Linked DNA regions of Homo sapiens: all the other regions are linked to region 1. The links are contacts of gene promoters, found by promoter capture Hi-C in blood cells and fetal thymus (Javierre and others, 2016). All regions are on one chromosome and are shown on one strand. The core of a region is centred on a gene start or on the middle of the fragment in contact, and the rest is flanking DNA. Distances in the headings are between cores, read along the strand shown. Region 1 holds the start of RBP5 (retinol binding protein 5). Region 2 has its middle 26 kb from the start of APOBEC1. Region 3 has its middle 45 kb from the start of APOBEC1. Region 4 holds the start of ING4 (inhibitor of growth family member 4). Region 5 holds the start of ZNF384 (zinc finger protein 384). Region 6 holds the start of COPS7A (COP9 signalosome subunit 7A). Region 7 holds the start of PTMS (parathymosin).

Evidence for each region. Contacts are between HindIII fragments. The CHiCAGO score rates a contact against its expected background, and 5 or more counts as called.
Region 2: a fragment that was not itself captured here is called in contact with the fragment with the promoter of RBP5 in region 1 in 11 of 17 cell types (fetal thymus, non-activated CD4 T cells, naive CD8 T cells and 8 more); the score reaches 9.4 in fetal thymus.
Region 3: a fragment that was not itself captured here is called in contact with the fragment with the promoter of RBP5 in region 1 in 1 of 17 cell types (M0 macrophages); the score reaches 5.0 in M0 macrophages.
Region 4: the fragment with the promoter of ING4 here is called in contact with the fragment with the promoter of RBP5 in region 1 in 4 of 17 cell types (non-activated CD4 T cells, naive B cells, total B cells and 1 more); the score reaches 6.8 in non-activated CD4 T cells.
Region 5: a contact is called between the fragment with the promoter of ZNF384 here and the fragment with the promoter of RBP5 in region 1, in 1 of 17 cell types (activated CD4 T cells). The highest score is 5.5, in activated CD4 T cells.
Region 6: the fragment with the promoter of COPS7A here is called in contact with the fragment with the promoter of RBP5 in region 1 in 6 of 17 cell types (naive CD4 T cells, total CD4 T cells, activated CD4 T cells and 3 more); the score reaches 7.3 in naive CD4 T cells.
Region 7: the fragment with the promoter of PTMS here is called in contact with the fragment with the promoter of RBP5 in region 1 in 1 of 17 cell types (activated CD4 T cells); the score reaches 5.1 in activated CD4 T cells.

Annotation. Positions count from the first base shown.
Region 1 is chr12:7,127,552-7,130,221 of GRCh38, reverse strand. It overlaps RBP5 (retinol binding protein 5), which reads left to right and starts at 1,333. Exons shown (of 4, transcript NM_031491.4): 1 at 1,333-1,519; 2 at 1,804-1,982. The coding sequence starts at 1,447. It also overlaps a transcript of CLSTN3 not described here. RefSeq lists a silencer at 1-94. The HindIII fragment of the contact is 14,463 bases long and covers 1-2,670 here.
Region 2 is chr12:7,638,251-7,640,920 of GRCh38, reverse strand. No RefSeq gene overlaps it. Among named protein-coding and RNA genes, the nearest start is that of APOBEC1, 26 kb to the left of the region's middle. RefSeq lists silencers at 789-888, 1,970-2,099 and an enhancer at 2,541-2,670. The HindIII fragment of the contact is 2,319 bases long and covers 171-2,489 here.
Region 3 is chr12:7,619,324-7,621,993 of GRCh38, reverse strand. No RefSeq gene overlaps it. Among named protein-coding and RNA genes, the nearest start is that of APOBEC1, 45 kb to the left of the region's middle. The HindIII fragment of the contact is 1,164 bases long and covers 790-1,953 here.
Region 4 is chr12:6,661,786-6,664,455 of GRCh38, reverse strand. ING4 (inhibitor of growth family member 4) reads left to right here and starts at 1,337. Exons shown (of 8, transcript NM_016162.4): 1 at 1,337-1,391. The coding sequence starts at 1,355. RefSeq lists an enhancer at 1,307-1,366. The HindIII fragment of the contact is 5,227 bases long and covers 1-2,223 here.
Region 5 is chr12:6,688,047-6,690,716 of GRCh38, reverse strand. It overlaps ZNF384 (zinc finger protein 384), which reads left to right and starts at 1,342. Exons shown (of 12, transcript NM_001385745.1): 1 at 1,342-1,619; 2 at 2,491-2,550. RefSeq lists silencers at 1,224-1,303, 1,384-1,493 and an enhancer at 864-1,490. The HindIII fragment of the contact is 17,984 bases long and covers 1-2,670 here.
Region 6 is chr12:6,722,683-6,725,352 of GRCh38, reverse strand. COPS7A (COP9 signalosome subunit 7A) reads right to left here and starts at 1,307. Exons shown (of 8, transcript NM_001164094.2): 1 at 1,174-1,307; 2 at 535-739. The coding sequence starts at 696. RefSeq lists enhancers at 653-872, 1,003-1,142, 1,173-1,382. The HindIII fragment of the contact is 1,412 bases long and covers 1,210-2,621 here.
Region 7 is chr12:6,765,113-6,767,782 of GRCh38, reverse strand. PTMS (parathymosin) reads right to left here and starts at 1,420. Exons shown (of 5, transcript NM_002824.6): 1 at 1,033-1,420. The coding sequence starts at 1,077. RefSeq lists silencers at 616-1,115, 1,226-1,555. The HindIII fragment of the contact is 8,838 bases long and covers 1-1,868 here.

The DNA of each region.
Region 1 (2,670 bases), core at 84-2,583:
AATTTTGGGGGAGCCGAGGAACTGCGGGGGCTGGGGAGGAAGCTGGAGAGCCACGGAGGGGGTGGGAAAGAAGAGGGACGTGGGGAGAAAGAAGCCAGAAGCCAGGGGGTGGGGAAGAGAGACGTCAGCGGGACCTGAGGGCGGCCAGGAGGGGTGGCACCGCGTCACCCCGCCCCCCAACTCTGCCATAACCTGTTTCCACAGCCCCTTCCATCCACAGATCCGTGCTGCGTGCCCTCTGGGAAGGGTGAAGTAAAACCCTCAGTCTGAGCCTGAGAAATCCTGGCATTTGTAGCCCAGGGCTGCGAGGAAGCCACAGGGCGGTCCGCAGGGCGGTATCGAGGCTCTGGGACCCAAGGAGGGGCAGGACGTCGTGCACCCCTCGCGCACGCACCTGTCGGGACCGGCCGCCTCCTCCTGCCTACCTGTCCTGCCTCCTTCGCCCCGAATTTCACCTTAAACCATGATGAACCAAGCCCAGTGGATTCTGAAGCCCGGGACGATGGCAGGTTCGAGAGAGAATTGGGCAGCTGGGGGCGGGGCACAATATTATTTAGGCGCCTCCACCCCACCTTCACAGAAATACATCTGGAAAGCATGGGCTGTCCTAGGGCTGGGGACTGGGGGTTACGGTCTCATCGATGACTCAGAGGGAGAGAAAACCCCCTGGGTCCCAAGCCAAAAAGAATAAAATTCTCCAGAATAGCCAACAAACTCCTCTCAGGCTGTCTGTTCCGGACTTTGAACTCAGCACCCCTCGGGCTCCACCTCCCTCCTAATGGCTCTTTAGGACCAAGAGTCTGGAATGCCACTTTGGGGTCCCAGTTGAGCACACTACCTGAGGGAGCTCTGAGAGCCAGGCCTACAGGGTGCTCTTCATGGTGGCAGCTGGCCATCCTCACCCCCTCCCCTCACATCTTCCAACATCACTCAGTCCCAGGATCTCAGGATATTGTTGGAACTCATCTCCACCTCACACAGCCAGACCAGCCTCAGGTGTCTCCCAGGAAAGACTGCCCCTCAGGCCCTGGGACGGTTCCCAAGCCTGCCAGAAATGAGGTGGAGGCCAACACTGACCTTTGGATGGCTGAGTTTTGGATGACTGACAGCCCCAGATCCTGCTCCAGGTTCCTTCCTCAGGAAGGATCCTGCTCCAGGTTCCTTCCTCAGGAAAAGCCAAGGTCAGGCGCAACTTTGCCAAATCCCTGCCCCTCCTTCAGGCTGGAGACACCACCCCCAAACTCACCATGCGGGGAGGGAAGAAGTCTGGTAGGGACTCTTATTGCAACAGGGCCCCAGCCTTATAAAAAGCCCTGGTAACCCGGCCATTACACATCCTGTCTCTGTGTGTGGAGCTGGCTGGAATCTCTCAGCCTCACCTGCCAGACAACACCCCCTCCTTCCTCACCCTGTCTCCTGCATTCTCCTGAAACCTTCATCCACACAATGCCTCCCAACCTCACTGGCTACTACCGCTTTGTCTCGCAGAAGAACATGGAGGACTACCTGCAAGCCCTAAGTAATGGCCTCGCCCTCCCAGACCCCTGTCACTCCCTTTCTCCCCTCTTCCTTCCTGCTTCTTGGTCCCATGGAGAAGAGGGAATGCCCGGGGTTGGACACTGTGGAAAGGCTCAGGCGGCTGGCACCAGACCTGGGATCCATTTCTAACCAGGCATTGGTAGGAGGGGGTGAATCCACAGTCCCAGACCCAAAGAAGGGAAACTCACAGCCCTGAGGGGCTGCTGCAGGCAGAGGAGCTCCTGGCTGGCTAGCAGCACCCCTACTAACAGGCAGCCCCCACAGACATCAGCTTGGCTGTGCGGAAGATCGCGCTGCTGCTGAAGCCGGACAAGGAGATCGAACACCAGGGCAACCACATGACGGTGAGGACGCTCAGCACCTTCCGAAACTACACTGTGCAGTTTGATGTGGGAGTGGAGTTTGAGGAGGACCTCAGGAGCGTGGACGGACGAAAATGCCAGGTACATTTCCCCTGGCTGGGCGGTGGCCGGAAGGAGGCATCACAGGAGACTCCTAACAACATGGGGCAAAACAAAGTGACCTTCCCCAGCCAGAGCAGCGGGGAGGAGGGGAATGGTCACCACAGCAGGGAATGCAGTCCCCAGGATACCAGTCTCCAGAACTAACAGGTCCTGGTGCTCCCTGTCTCTCTCCCACTTCTTCCCTGCCCCCTCTTATCACCAGCCCAAAGGGCAAAGAACAGGCCAACCCAGACCGAAGAGCAAACATTTGCCCACCCTCCAGCCTGTGACACTGTTGGTCACCCAGAGTCCCTTTTACTTTAGCATCAATAACTTCACTCTCCTGCATTTCTTTCTACTTCTTACATATTCCTTCTTAGCCTCCTTTGCAGATCCTAGTCCTCCTATTAATCCTTTAAACTGGAGTTTTCTCCGCAGAGTTTTGTTCTTAATGTCTTCTCCCTTTTGTCTGCCCACTATCCATAGGCTAAATCATCTACACCCATGCCTTCTGCTTCCATCTATAGGCTGCCCTTGGCATGAATTCTCCAGCCAGAGCCATCTCCTGAGCTCCAGGGCAATGTTTTCAACTGCCTACAAAATACAGTTGGCCCTCCATATTCATGGGTTCTGCATCCACAGCTTCAGCAAACTGCAAATGGAAAAATATTTGGGAAAAATAAAAATA
Region 2 (2,670 bases), core at 81-2,580, 510 kb before region 1:
AGTTTGTTCCTTTTGATGTGCAGGTGTGTTCAGTTTTTTCTTTCTGGTGGGTTCATGGTCTGGCGGGCTCAGGAGTAAAGCTGCAGACCTTTGCGGTCACTGTTACAGCTCTTAAGGCAGCGCGTCGGGAGTTGTTCGTTCCTCCCGGTAGGCTCGTGGTCTCGCAAGCTTTCGTGGTGAGTGCTGTAATTCACAAAAGTAGTATGGACCCCAAGAGCGAAAGAACAAAGCCCCACCAAGGCAGAGAGACACCCGAGCGGGTTACTACTACCAACTCGGGCAGCCTGCTTTTATTCTCTTATCTGGCCCCCCCCCAACCACATCCTGCTGATTGGTAGAGGCGAGTGGTCTGTTTTGACAGGGCGCTGATTGGTGCGTTTACAATCCCTGAGCTAGGTACAAAGGTTCTCCTCCTCCCCATCAGATTAGTTAGATACAGAGTATCCACACAAAGGTTCTCCAAGGCCCCACCAGAGCAGCTAGATACAGAGTGTCGATTGGCGCGCTCACAACCCTGAGCTAGACACAGGGTGCTGATTGGTGTGTTTACAAACCTTGAGCTAGATACAGAGTGTCCATTGGTGTATTTGCAATCCCTGAGCTAAACATAAATTCTCCACGTCCTCACCAGACTCAGGAGCCCAGCTGGCTTCACCCAGTGGATCCCGCACCGGCGCTGCAGTCCCACGCCATGCGCTTGCACTCCTCAGCCCTTGGGCGGTCGATGGGACTGGGCGCCGTGGAGCAGGGGGCGGCGCTCGTCGGGGAGGCTCCGGCTGCACAGGAACCCACGGAGGCGGGGGAAGGCTCAGGCATGGCGGGCTGCAGTCCCAAGGCCTGCCCCGCGGGAAGGCAGCTAAGGCCCGGTGAGAAATCGAGCGCAGCGCCGGTGGGCTGGCACTGCTGGGGGACCCAGTACACCCTCCGCAGCCGCTGGCCCGGGTGCTAAGCCCCTCACTGCCCCGGGCCGGCAGGGCCGGCCGGCTGCTCCGAGTGCGGGGCCGCCAAGCCCACGCCCCCCCGGAACTCCAGCTGGCCCGCAAGCGCCGCGCGCAGCCCCGGTTCCCGCTCGCGCGTCTCCCTCCACACCTCCCTGCAAGCTGAGGGAGCGGGCTGCGGCCTTCGCCAGCCCAGAAAGGGGCTCCCACAGTGCAGCGGTGGGCTGAAGGGCTCCTCAAGTGCCGCCAAAGTGGGAGCCCAGGCAGAGGAGGCGCCGAGAGCGAGCGAGAGCTGTGAGGACTGCTAGCACGCTGTCACCTCTCAATGGGATTAACCACACTTTACCCACGCAACCTTAGCTTATCTGCCTTGTGTGATTCCCTTTGACTTCCTAAGCCTATGTGATCTACCTGGCTCCCTGAAAAATTGATCTTTGGAGAGACTGTGTTGTTTTTGGTCAAGGCTCCTTTAACAGAGGCAATGTGCTAGACTGCCTGCTATTATGGCCCATGCCAAACCATTTACCCTCAGAAAAATGGTTCTGGTTAACTTCTGAACTTAAAATCTCCCTACTAATTATACCATTTTAACAGGAAACAGATTAGATGTCTTAAAAGAGCGTAGGAACAGAATGGCCATTTTCCTGCTTATGGGACAATATCAAGACTAAAATGTGGCAGCAGACATATTACTTCTTTTTGAGACAGAGTCTCACTGTCACCCAGGCTGGAGTGCAGTGACGTAATCTCAGCTCACTGCAACCTCTGCTTCCCCGTTTTAAGCAATTCAATAGCCTCAGCCTCCTGAGCAGCTGGGACCGCAGGTGTGCACCACCACGCCCAGCTAATTTTTGTGTTTTTAGTAGAGACGGGGTTTCACCATATTGGCCAGGCTGGTCTCGAACTCCTGACCTCGTGATCCACCCGCTTTGGCCTCCCAAAGTGTTGGGATTACAGGCGTAAGCCACCATGCCCGGTCGAGGACATATTACTTCTAATTGCTGAAGGCAGAACTTTCCGGTTCACAGAAGTAGGTTAGAGCCTGATTTCTGGTGGTGCAAAAGGAAGTTCAGTGTTACCGTAAAAAATGTGGCCCCTGAAGAGGATTTCTACTTCCACTAGGTGGCGCTGTTGGCTTAGAAATACTATATGCTCACCAGCGCAGCCACAGAGAGCGGGCTTGTTGAGTTACTGCCTGCTGCGTTTGCCATCTTTCCTAGCAGACCTGTTTCACTGAACTGTAAAACTCCCTGCACTTTTCACAGAGAGAGAGTAAGAGACCGTGGATAGAGAAAGAAGGAAAATTTTGCAACAGGATAGTAAGAAGAGAGCCTTGAAATTGAAGGAGAGATTTGAGGTTGGGGCTCGCTCTATAGTCACCACTCCGATGAATGAATTCCCGGTCAATGCAACCAAAATGATAACTGCTCTGATGAATGGAAGAACAGCAGGGTCCTTGGTCTAACATCGTTTTAGATAAAGCGACATGGACACATGTAGAGTGGTTTTAAGGAGTGGAGAGTTTAATAAGCAAGAAAGAAGGAAGAAGCTTCCCAGTACAGGGACAGAGGGAGGGGGGCTCCCAGAGAGAAACCCCGTGTGTGGCAGAGTAGTTTGTTATAGCAGGAGGCTGGAGGAGGAGGTGTCTAATTTGCATAGGGCCCAGGAGATTGGTTTGACCAGGCGTGTCATTCACATAGCCCGTGAAAAACCTGGCACTCCTACCTTACTC
Region 3 (2,670 bases), core at 122-2,621, 490 kb before region 1:
TGTGGTATTGTAAAGTCTTTTTATTTTAGCTATTCTAATCATTGTGTATTGGTATTTGATTGTGGTTTTAATTTGCATTTCTCTAATGACTAATGGTGTTAATTTCAGGTGATTATTTTCCATGTGACTATCTTCCCTGGGGAAGTGTCTGTTCAAATCTTTTTGCCTATTGTTTACTCTTTAAAATTGAGTTATGAGAGTTCTTTATGTATTCTAGATACAAACTTATTATTAAATATTTGATGTGCAATTATTTTCTCCCAGCCTATGGCTTGCCTTTTCAATCGTGTATAAGCCATATCAGGTGTATACAGTGAATCTTAGGGAACCAATAGATATTATGTTTTAGACTATTCCTATGTAACTGAATAATTCTTTTTTCCTGAATATGTTACAACATGTGAAACTCTTCTAAATCTGAATAAAATAAGAATATAAACTTCTGTAAGAGAAAAAATTAGAAAAAAACATTGATATAAAATTAAGTGTCCTCTTTTTGTGGGATCAAACATAGTAGTATTAAGGTTATGTTTGTGAATAGCACAGGTGTAGTAATGCCAGCGCTAAAACTAGAAGAGAAAGTAGCAAGAGCACAGCTGTAATTAATACAGATCAAATAAATATCAATTTTTGATGTTGGATATAGTTTGTGGTTGAATATTAATAACTGTTAAAATTAGTAGCATCTAACATTGATGAAATATTTGCTAAGTGTAATGAGAAAATGGTTTGATCTACAGAAGCTCCTGCCTGGGCTAAATTTCCAGCTAAAAGTGCTGTTTTAAAGCTTTAAAATGATTCCACTTCCATAGTTTGCTACTTGAGTAACGTATATTTTGATGTGATAGGAAAATGTAATTCCCCCTCCCTGCAAGAGTGTTATGTCACACCTCATCAGACCACATATGTGAGTAATTGACCTCAACTCCAAAATACATATAAACCTAAGATTTTGACAGACACTTTGACAGCTCAGACTGTGGCAAAGCCCCAAACAGGTGGGTAGACTGGTCACCCTGTTTAGCAGCAGCTTAGACTATTGCAAGAGGAGGAATGATAGGGGCAGAAGTCAGAAACCTATTCTGTATTTCTGGGAATACTTTATCTGGAGCCCCAATTATTAATGGAATTAATAAATTACTGAAACCATTGATTAGAATAGGTAAAACCATAAAAAATTATTGCAAATATATAGGCAGCAATGATAACATTACAGATTTGATCATCTCCTAATACATAGCTTCTGGCTGACCCAATTTGGTATGGACATGTCCTGCACATGTACCCTAGAACTTCAAATAACAATAAAAATTTTAAAAAGCCCACAAGCTACAAAAACAAAAAAACAAAAAGAAGATGGAAGGCAGTCCCCACTATTCTGGCTTAGGCACCAAATTATAATGTGTCAGTGTTTTTGTGGTTTGTTGAGAATAATCAACGATTAATGAACATAGGGAGAAGCAAGGTAAAAATGGCTGAGTGAGCATTAGTCTATAAATCTAAAGACAGAGATTAAACCTCTTTTCACCAAGTCCTGAGGTGAAATTTCACACTGAATTTGCAAAGTTAAAGGAGCAGCTTCAATTCTGCAGCGGTAGGGGGGCACTTCTGCATTTTTTTTTCCAGGGAGGGAAAAGTAGAGTAAAGCCAGTTGGTTAAGATATTTAGCCGCTAACTAATGTATTGGATGAATATTATTATATTATTAAAATTAATAAATTATCAATTATTAAAATCCTTCTTTGAGTCTAAAAAACATAGGCCATCAATATTACTGAAGTTATGAATACAAAAACTATGAAGACCTAAACTGCAACCCTTATATAATTTCCACAGCTGACCAAAAGCCAGAGAAGCATAACTAATCAAGGTCAATGACCATAGAAAAGTCAATTTGTGTGTTAATCTCATTTGAAGATATATTATACTCATGAGCCATACCTTCATTAAGCTTAAAAACTGACACAATTTTCATACGTTTAAATCAAGAAACTTCAATATATATACCCAGCCAGGTTTATACTATGGGCAATGCTCAGAAATTTGTGAATCAAATTTCAAGTACAATGTACTTGAATTAGTACCATCAAAACGTTTTGAAAATTGATCAATATCTATATTATAATATCCTTGTGAAGCTAAATAACAACCTTTTAAGTTAAAGACTGAGAGTAAAAAAAAGTTGTCTCTGGCTTATTTATTATGTAAATCTTTATAATGATTGTAAGTTTCAAAGGCCCAGACTGTTTCAACTACAGATGCAGGTGAAGCTAACGTAGAGAAATGAGAACACTTACTATATATGGCTTGTTTTATTTTCTTGGGAGATAGAGAAAAGTTATAGGGAATTATTCCTTATATAACTCTAACTATATTTCCTATGTAACTTTAATGCTAGGATTAAGTATCAAACTTAATAGGCCCCTCTCTGCAATAGGTTCGTTTCAGGAATCACTGGCCCTAGGAATCAACAAAGCTCAGAGTTGGAGGAAAAACCAAGCTTTCAGTATTTGAGGCAGCTCCTTGTGGAAGGCAGTCATTAAAAACTAAAAAAGAAAAAAAAATTTAGAAGATATATTCTTTTAGTAGTCAAGACAAAATGCTACTAGGAAAGTAAAAAGAAAATTAGAGGAGGACATTTTCATCTGCCATTACTCCTTGTATACTTAT
Region 4 (2,670 bases), core at 88-2,587, 470 kb after region 1:
GGGGTGGCAGCTATCTCTAAAATACTATCTTACTAACACCACTATTAGGTTATGGCCTTTGTGTTGGCAGTGTGTTGACAGCCTAGTGTGTTGGCAGCCTCTCATACCCTTGACTGCTTCCCATTCTGATGAAAACCATAGAAATCACTCTACCATAGCTGACTAGAGTGATGGCTAGCAACTAACTAGCCAACTAGCCCAGTAGTGATACTGCTGCATCCCTCAATCCCTTCAGAATTATGATGCTAACATCACATATAAACAAAAGGAAAACAAAAACACGAGATTTCCCCCTTAGAGAGTAGCAAGAGGGGCCAGGCACAGTGGTTCGCACCTGTAATCCCAGCACTTTGAGAGGCTGAGGTGGGCAGATCACCTGAGGTCGGAAGTTCGAGACCAGCCTCACCGACATGGAGAAACCCCATCTCTACTAAAAATACAAAATTAGTCTGGCGTGATGGTGCATACCTGTAATCCCAGCTACACGGGAGGCTGAGACAGAAGAATCACTTGAACCCGGGAGGTGGAGGTTGCGGTGAGCCATGATCACGCCATTGCACTCCAGCCTGGGCAATAAGAGTGAAAATTCTGTCTCAAAAAAAAAAAAAAAAAAGCAAGAGGGCAAGGCAGGAAGTAATATTTTATATGTGAAAGTGTATTCTAGTGTAACGTACAGGAGCTCTGACAAAAGATGTGCAGAATTATAGCTTTATTATGAGTCATTCTTTGTATTTATAAGTAGAAAGGTGATCATCTTTCTCAAGTTAAAAAAATAATGCTGGGGGAGATGGTGTTTGTGTGAGTGAATAGAAATTCAGACGGTTTAAATGTCTCAAGGCCTGATACTCTTCCCCAACTTCCTTAAGAAACTAACTGGCTTGAAAAAAGTCATTCTGCAAAAGAGGGAAAAAAAGTTGGATCTTCCAGTTGCTGAGAAGGTATGTTTACGCAATATGAGCCTAAAGTGAACAGTTACCCCTGCACGGATTACCATACATTCCCGTTTTGGAGGGAAAAAAGTTTGCTAGAGAATGCAAAATGGCGACCTCCAGTGACGTCATACCTGTCTCGGTCGCGTCCTGGGGTGTCTGTAAGGGCGGAAGCGGGCTACAGCCGCCTCACTGTGGGCGGTCGTGGCTACCATGCAAAAGGAAAAGTTTCAGTGTCGGGCGGATGTGTACCGGCGGTAATATAGTAAGGGCGGAAGTTCTCCTTTAAGGGCGGAAGTTCTCCTTTTAAGGGCGGAAGTTCTCCTTTTAAGGGCGGAAAGGCTTTAGCCGCAAAATGGCTTCGGCCCCTGTCGCGTTACAGTCACTTCCGGGGCGGATCGGAAGTTGCTTTGTTTTGCTTCGAGATGGCTGCGGGGATGTATTTGGAACATTATCTGGACAGTAAGAGCAGGCTGGAGGTGGGGGTCGGGGCTGCAGAGTGGTGCGGGGATCAGGGATGAGAGGATCTGTAGCCCTTAAGTTCCAGTGACGAGAAGGTCACAATTATGAAGCGGTTCTGTGGCAGGAAATATTGGAGGGTGCGGAGAAAGAGGGGGCGGGGCAGCAGGATCGAGGCCCCGCTGATGGGTGTAGACGAGGGAGGGGTGCGGTGTGGGGGTTAGAGACGTGTCTTGAAGGGCTAGTGTGCATGGCCAGGAAGATAGTTGCTGCCCCCATTCTCCAGGGTCTCCAGCCTCGGTAGATTTTTTTCCCCATAGTCGTTCAGAATCGTTATCACACACTGCCATTTGGAGAAGCGGTAAAGACCTCTCCTCCACTCCATTCTTCCTCAAAAGTGGCTTCTCATGGGGTTGAGAGTGGTGGTGATGAGTGACCACTGTCAGATGATGAACTAGAACGCTTCTCTTCATGGAGTAAAGATCTAATTCCCATCAAATGAAAATCTGGTGTTTATGCGATTTATGTAAACCACCCCTGCAGAAAGCCTATTGCTCTGTGCGCTTACATTTGTTTTAGGGCCCGGAGTCATTTATTCAACAAATATTTATTGAGGTCCTGCTATGGGTCAGACATAATGGCAGGCACTAGGGATAGAAAAATGAGTAAGACAAGGCTCCTGCCCTCAAGAAGCTCACGATCTAGTAGGAAACAGATTCTGCAAATAATTATAAAACACTGTGACAAGTGAGATAATGGAAATACATTAAAAAGGACACTTGGTAGGCAACCCTGGAGAAAAGGGGGGTAATTACCTGGGGATGTAGGAAAAGCTTTACAGCGGAGGTGATGTTTGAATAGGGTCTTGAAGGTTATTTGCCAGTGAGGAGAGAAAAAAGGAATTCCAGGTTGGGGAAAGCATCCGCAAAGGTACTGTGATGGGTTTGTGGCAAGGTCAAGGGTGTTTGATATTTATGACTCAGAGGTCAGCGTATTTGATATTTATGAATCTAAGGTAAGAAATTGAGAAAGGAGACTGGAGAAAGAGGCTGAGGCTAGATTGGACAAGGTCTTTTAAGCCAAACGAAGAAGTTTGCATTTTAAAGTAGAGTATGATTTTTATAGAGGAAAATGACTAATATATGGTAAATTGGAGCATGATATTGTTGATAACAGAGATCAATTAGTGATAACATTCCAGGACAGAGATAAGAACCTGATTTTAGGGAGTTACAGAAGTATTTAGGAGTTAAATATGAAAGGACTGACTGAATGACTGAGT
Region 5 (2,670 bases), core at 93-2,592, 440 kb after region 1:
AACCCAGGAGGCAGAGGTTGCAGTGAGCCAAGATGGCGCCAATGCACTCCAGCCTGGGCAACAGGGTGACACTCTGTCTTTAAAAAAAAAAAAAAAAGGTTATTTTTCTCAGCAAGAGGCTCTTACCATTAGTAGGAGAGACCTCAGTTCTGCTTAGAGCTGAGCCCAGGGGGATTCTGGCCAGGTCGGGGTGCACGCTTGTAACAGCATTCACTTGTTCAAACAACATATTCAGCATTTACTATATGCTCAGCAAAGCAACGTATTTCCTTCCATGAGGAACTGACAATCTTGCTGGGGAATCACATGTATGAAATAGTTAAAATATCAATAAAAGGTACGTATTAAATACTATGGGAATTCAGAGGGACCATTACAGGTTGGAGCAATCAGGCAAGGCTTCCTAAAAGGGTTCATATTTAGGTGTTCATAATGAACTATAGTTCATTTATACAACAAGAGTTTACAGACCACTTAACTGCCAGGATATGAGGATACAGCAACGAACAATTCAGTCCTCGCTGTCCTGTAGCCAATATTTTAGTTGGGAGAGGTGGACAGCAAACAATAAATCAGGCAGTAATAAGTGCTATATTTAAGTAAAACAGGGTAAGGGGATAGAGATGTGGGTATGGGCAACAAGAAAAGACCAAAGTAAAGTAAGGGATGTGTCAGAGAGACAGATTTTGATGGCTGGGAGAGTTTCTAACTGGACCTAAGTAGGGACCTCCGAAAAACAAGGATACGTCCTAGTCCTTTCCCGCATATTCAAAGCATTGAGACATTCTTGGGGGTATCAGAAAAAATAATGGTAATTTCCTACATCAGCTTATTCAACATCCAGAGGGAAGAGAAACGGGGTCCCAGCATCTGAAGAACCCACACCTCCTCTCCTACCTTGATGGATAATTCATGAACCTGTCGCGTTTCCACCCCCCCACCTTCCCCAGATGTCCCTTCCGGAAGCTCAGGGCCGGAGTCCTCCGGTTTCAGCTTTTGCCCCTAGCGGAACCCGCCTTCACTTCCGCTATAGCGTCACATCCCCTCTTCCCAGTCGCTGGGCAGAAGCTATTTCCGCCCCGAGTTATCGTAACTTCTGCCCTGAATATCTCGCAGCGCTAGCGGCGCCGGAAGTGTTCCAGCCACTCCCGGAAGTGACTCGGCTTCTGCACGCCCCTCTTTCTCCATTAGCGCCCCCCCTACATTGCTATTTCCCTCCCTCCCCCCTTTTCGTTTCCGGCGCTCCCGCCTTCTCTCCGCAGAGCTCTTCTCTGAGCCTGTTGGGGGGAGGGAGGGGGGCGTGGAGGAACTGGGGTTCGCGGGAGCACGAGCTGCAGCACCACTTCCGGGTGAGTGCAAGGGGAGGGCAGCAAGGAGGGGGGGCCACCCACTACCTCGCGCCCCCGCCCTGCGGGTGTCTCGCGCGCGTTCCGTGCGTGTGAGTGTGTGGGTCTGTCTCGCTCCAGAAGTGCGTGCCCGCGCGCTGCGCCTTGCGCTTTTTCCCCTCCCTCGCCCCTTCCTGGTCCTCCCACCCTCCTCGGCTCCCTCCTTTCCCAGCAAACGCCGCCCCTCCCGCGCCCTGGCTCAGGCTCTGGCGCCGCCGCAGCCGTCGCCGCCCGGTGAGTCTCGCGCCGCTACAGCCGGCGCGCGCCAAGCTGCTTGCTCCTCCCCCCTCCCCTTTTCCTTGGGCAGGCGGGGAAGGGGGGGTCCACGATGTGACTGTGTGTGTGTCCGTCCCGGAACCGGAAGTGGTTGTGGAGGAGCGGGCGATGGGAAGGAATGGGGGGGTTTAGGGGGCGGGTGCCTGTCTGGTGGGTGGCAGAGTTCAGCTCCCTGGAGGGGAAGGAGGGACGTCCCAAGGAAGGGTCTTTGAGAAAGGGGTAGGGGACGACATCAGGAGAAGGCTCCCAGGAACTGTCTCAGGGGAGCGAAGGTTTTGAGGGGACAGCTGGGGTCTCCAGTAGATAGACCACGGTGCAGGCTGAGGGAGGTACTTCTTGGCACAAGGCCTCGGGTAGGCAGGGGGCGAAGTCCTCGAAGAAGTGGGGGGAAGGCTAGAGGAAGTGGCTGGGCCTGAACTGGCACTGTGCCTGCCACAAGGTCTTGTGCATCCCCCAGCCCTCAGCTTTGCCTTCTGAAGCCACTCCTCAGGGGCACAGACCCTCCTCCTCCTCCATCTCTAATGTTCTCTGACCCCTGGTTACCTGTGGCCTGGGAACGAACAAGGACCAGTCTCTGAGCCTAGGAGTGAAACCCAAACGCTGGTGATAGAATTCGTCTTAGTTTCTGGGAATTGGATTTATTTCTCTTGTATCCACGTAGAGGGTAGCACTAGACTGCTGTTATTATATCCACCCGTCTTTGGATTGCTGGCTGGGGGGTCTGCCTGCCTTCCAGACTGACTGCTGACAAATAATTCCTGAGGTTCTCCACAGTTCTCTGGTGGCTGCACCCTGCCTGGCCCCTGTAACCTAGACAATTTGTTTACAGAAAGTTCAGGAGCCCTGGAAAGGAGAAGGAATAAGACGGCAGGAGGAAGAGAGAGAGAGGGTAAGATGATTTTTGGGTTAATGGCTTTTCTGGTTTTGGGGGAGAAGGGGTCACAACCAAATGGGGCGTGTGTGTGTTTCACAATGTGATAGAATACTTAAAGTAATAGCAATTGTAATG
Region 6 (2,670 bases), core at 58-2,557, 400 kb after region 1:
ATCCCATCTCTACTAAAAATACAAAAAAGTTAGCCGGGCATGGTGGCGGGCGCCTGTAGTCCCAGCTACTGAGGAGGCTGAGGCAGGAGAATGGCGTGAACCCAGGAGGCAGAGCTTGCACTCAGCTGAGATCACGCCACTGCACTCCAGCCTGGGTGACAGAGCAAGACTCCGTCTCAAAAAAAAAAAAAAAAAGAGAAAGCTGAAGCCCTAAAACAAAAGTGACCTGATCAAGGTGACATGAGAATTAACAGCTACTACACTGGTGGAGACCGGCTGGAAATCAGGTTTCCTATTCTGAATAGGATGCTCTTTTGCTTAAAATGAAAAATAGTGGGCTTTACAGATCCCTTATCTCCAAAGGAGAGCTGGTTTGCTTGTTCACTGGTTACTTCTGCAAGTTGGCATTTAATTATCACTGTTTTCTTGTTCAACTGAATGGTTATTGGATCACAAAATGAGCCCTGCCCACCCATTCTCAAATTCAAACCTTTGCCCACGCTTCTCTGAGGGCTATTCAAGCCAGCAACCCACCTCTCTAACATTGGGCATGTCCAGCAGTTCTCCAAACACGTAGACACCAGGGGCCTCCAGCACCTGATGGATGAGTGTGGCCAGCGCTGCCCCCTTGGCCGACTTGGCTAGGAGCAGAAATTGCTCCTGGTTCTGCCCTGTCACCTTCACTTCCGCACTCATCACTGCACTGAGTGTGGGGGACTTGGGCTCAGGATGTCCAGAGCTGCAAGGAAAGAGGATGTGAAGCTAGAGGTCCCCGATGGCTGGTCGGATGGGAAGCACAAGGCTGAGGGACTGGATTGTAAAGGCACTAAGTCGGTTCTGCGGTGAGGAATCAGACATGGAGCGGTCTAAAATTCTGATCTAGGAATCCTAAAGTCAGCCACTTCGCAAGGCTGCCACACCCACCCCCTCCCCTGGGCCTAACCCCAAGCCCCATCACGTGCACCCCATTGAACCCCAAGACACAGGATGCAAAGGAGAAATGGGTGTCGCATGGTGTCCACCCTGACGACGCTCCCTCAGCTCTCCATTGCTGCCCCGCACGCGCCCACAACCACGTGACCTCACCCCCATTGAAGCTTACACGTGGCTCCGCCCCCTCCCTTAAAGACACCGCCCAGCGACCGTGGGCTCCCGCCGACTGCTTCGTCGTACCCTGGGTCAGGCTCTGCGGGCCGCTACCTGGAAGCTTCGACCTCCAGCGCACCGGGCGGGGCCGCCGCTCCGTCACCTCCGGCAGCTGTTCCAAGCCTTTCCTGCCACCTCCCTGAAGAGTCGCTCTGGCCACTAAACTCTATGGCGGGCTTCCGGCCGTACTTCCGCTCTAAGGACGCAAATTTCGGCAGGACATGCCCCACCCCCGCGTTCCGACCGCTGAAGCTCCAGTGAGGGACGCAGGCATTCTACTCTTCGATTGGTCGCTGGGGGAAGAATGACGGGCGCCTTTTTAAATGCTTTATTTCAATAAAACTTTATTAGTGGAAGAGCGCCAGCTATTAACTACAGACGTCTCTGGTGGGTCCCTGGTCCCGGCCCATTCTGTGTCTGTTCTAAGCCGCTGGAGAGCTGGAGATCAGGACTGCACTGGGTACCTGAGGCAAGAGAAAAGCTGTAACGGAAGGAGTGAAGAAGAGGGAAAAAAACGGGATGAGGAAACAAGGGGCAGAGAGGAAGCAAACAAAAATCAATAATAGAAGTTTAGCAGCAGAGATCACCTAGGTGGTTCAACCACTCACTTTTTTGAAGAGCAGGAGAAAAGAAGCGAGAAAAATAAAAGAGAGAATAAAGCTAACATGTATTGAGTGCTTACTATTGGTCAGACATCTTTTAAAATTTTATTCCGTTGAATCCTCACAAATATTCCCCTGTGACTTCAGGACACCCTCTACCATGATTACTACATATGTATTAATACTTGTAGAATGATGCTTTCAGTACATGGACTCTTAATTTCTTGGGGAGGAAAAAACCCTATGTGGTTCTCATTTTACAGAAAAGGAAATTGAGGCTCATAAAAATCCAAGGATTTATCTGGAGCTTTTCAAACTCAAAACCATCTTTCTACTTCAATATGATACTTTAATAAAAACAAAAACAACTAACATTTCTATAGTGTTTTATATTTCACAACAGGCTTGCAGAAGGTCAAGTGAGGGTAAAGTTAATGACATCTTGGCCTTTGTGTTAAGCCATGAGCATTACTTAATTCATCTGATACAACGATCTAGTAATTGTTATCTCCACTTTCCAGATGGAAAAACTGAACTCAGGAAAATTAAGAAACTTGTAAGTAATGGAAAGACAAGAAAGTGAAAAAGAGAAAGATAAAGAGAAATAGGACTCGTAGTCTGTTAGGGCTAAAGGAACTGCAGATGCAGTTTATGGTCCGCATATTTTGGTTTGTGATAGAAAATAAGCAGAAACACAGAAAGGAAAGAGAAAGGAGGAAGAGGAGAAGAAGAAATGAATGGAAAAGGTGAAACAAAAGTGAGTAGAAGGAATCAAAGGCATAATAAAATATTCAGAGTTTGAAGGAAGCAAGGAATTAATGAGTCCAAACATTATTATTATTATTTTGCATCCACCCCTCCCCGCCCCAAGCTTATCTTTTTTTTTTTTTTTTAATTTGAGACGGAGTCTCGCTCTGTCGCC
Region 7 (2,670 bases), core at 171-2,670, 360 kb after region 1:
CCTACTCAGTGAAGTCACATGCCACCGCACAGCCCGCCGGAGGGCCACACGGGCGCACCTTGGCAGATCGCACACAGCCCCTCTCCCACCGCCGTTAATCCCATTGGCTCCCCCCGTTTCACTCCGCGGGCCTCCGGGAGACCTGTGTGACGGCCCCTCAGCAACCACCGCGCCCCCCCCCCCCGCCATACACATACACACACAAGATAGGGCTCCCAGCCCCCAAACCCCGGCCGCGTTAATTTCCCAAAGCGACACTCCGCAGGTTCCCTGGGGAAATTAGAGGAAGGCTGGAAGAGAGGCAAGGGCGAACGGATGGGGCCGGGGAAGGGAGCTGATGAGGGCGAGGACAGCTCGACGCAATGCCATGCAATGCCCAGCCTCGGCTTTTTCGAAGGCTAGTCCTGCCCCGCTTCTAATTTTTAGGAATTCGAGATTCTTTCAGTGTGTATGCGGGAAGGGGACGATGAAGAGAAAAGAAAGCTGAAAGCCAGCTGAGGGGAGGGAACGAGAAAACAGAGGCGGCCGCCGTCCGGGGAGAGAAGCGAGCGACGGTCGGGCCGCGGGGAGGGGCCCGGAGGAGCAGCCTCCAGGGAGAGTCCTGTTTACACTTGAGGATCTCAAACCGCTTAGCGAGGAAAGGTGAGGTCAGGTTGCAAGCAAAGACGCGGCAGCGGGGCGCAGGGAGGGGGCGCGGCAAAGTGAGACTCGGGGCGTTCGGACGGGAAGCCGGACGGGATCCGGTCAGCGAGGTGGGGCCGAAGAGGGGTGGGGACGGCTGCGGGGGACGGCGCGACCGGAGCGGCGAGGCCGGGCGCCGTGGTGCGCGCAGGGCAGCTAGAGGGCGCTGGCGCTAGCCGCGCGGAGCCGGGAAAGGAGCTCCGGGCCGGGGAGCGGTGGGAGGGCGCAGTGGGGTCCGCCAGGACCCGGGCGCAAGGGCCGCGCGGGGCCGTCGGGGGCGGCCTGGGGCGAAGGACCGCGCCGGGCCCCAGGGCTGCGCGAGGTCCGGGCCGCCGCCGCCCCCGCCCGTACCTTGGCGCTCAACTCGGCCGCTGCCTCCACGCTTTTCTCCGACATGGTGCCGGGGCCGGGGCCGGGGCTGGCGGGGAGCCGGGGTCCCGGGGCCGAGACGGAGGGGCCCTGGACGGCGGAGGGTGGCCGCGGCCGGAACCTGGCGCGGTGGCGGCGGCGGCGGCGACAGCGGCAGCGGCGGCCGCTCGGCAAGCTGGGTCTCTGGAAGAGGCGGCAGAGGCGCGCGGGGTGGGGCGGGGGTGGGTCTGGAGCGGAGACCCGCAGGGCTGCGGCCGTCCGGAGGGCGGGCGGAAGGGCGGTGCAGGCGGTGGCCGGCGCGCTCGGCCGCGGTAGCTCGATCCCGGGCTCGCCGCCCCCGCACCAGCAGAGCTGCCGCCGACCAGCCGCTGCCGCCCCCGGGAAGGGAACCCGCTTATAAGGCGGCGCTGCCCGACGGGAGGGGCTTCCCAGGGGTGGGGCAGGCGGGAGCGGGGAGGAGAGGAGAGGGGAGGGGGATGAAAGAGGAGGTTGGAGAGGTGGGGATAGGAGGATGAAAGCGAGGGGAGGGAGAGCTAGGGAGTCGGGAGGGAGGACGAGACCAGGAGGGGGAAATGGAGAGACTGACGGCCGCGGAGAAAGAGTGGGGCGAGGAGGTGGGAAGGGGTGGGGTTCCTGCGGGGAGGCACCTTTCCAAATCCCAACCTACTGCCTGCGAATGTGGAGTCTGGCTTTTGGGGGCGGACTGGAGAGGTGGCCAGAATCCTACTGACCCCAAAAAAAGCCCTGGGATTTTGCCAAGGGGTGGGGTGAGGGGAGCAGATGGGAAGATAGGGCAGGTATTTGAGAAACCAAAAGCTTAAAGAAGAGGAAGAGGGTTCGGGCGCTCCTTCCACACCACGCCGGATTTCCCCCTCTCATCCTCCATCCACATTCTCTGGATGGCCTTGAGGAGGGATGGGAGGGCAGAAAGGGCGGCCCAGCCTTCTGTCCCGCCAGATTGACACTTGTGACCCTTGCCGGGTGCCTCCCTTCCTGGCCCCGTGCTGTGAGCCGGGGGGAGTCAGGCCCCCTGGTCTCCTTTGCTGTCTTCCAGCTCTCTTCCATCTTCTACCTCTCTTATTCGCCCGTCTCACCTCACTTTTATTCGCCTGGTCCTTCTATTTCTCTTCATCCGTCCTCAGTCATCTGTACCTAGACCCCTCCTTCACAACCAATTATAACTCGAATCGCTCCCATTCTTCTCTCACCTCTTCTCCACTCCTCACTGACTCTCTTCTGCCCTTCCACCTCTGGTCTCTTTCCCTATCTTTCCCAGACAACCCTGCTCTTGTCTTATCTGAGTCAGGCACCTGGCCCTCTATTCTTGGCTGGCTTTCCTCAACTCCTCTTTCTGTCCTCATTTTTTACATTTTCCATCCTTCAGCTTTTCTCATTCCTCTGCTGCCATCTTCCCTAGCCTTTCTGGGTTATATTTGCCTCCTTTGCAAATATAATACAGGTCCAGGTCTGGAGTTCCAGCCCCACCCTATTCCACACATCCTCAGCTCCTCGCCCTCAATCTCGGTATCTTTGAGTCATTTTGAAAAGCTTGGGATTTCAGAAGGGAACAGGGGCTGGGTTGTGTATTAAAGGTCAGGAAGGTGGACAGAGTGGAAGGCT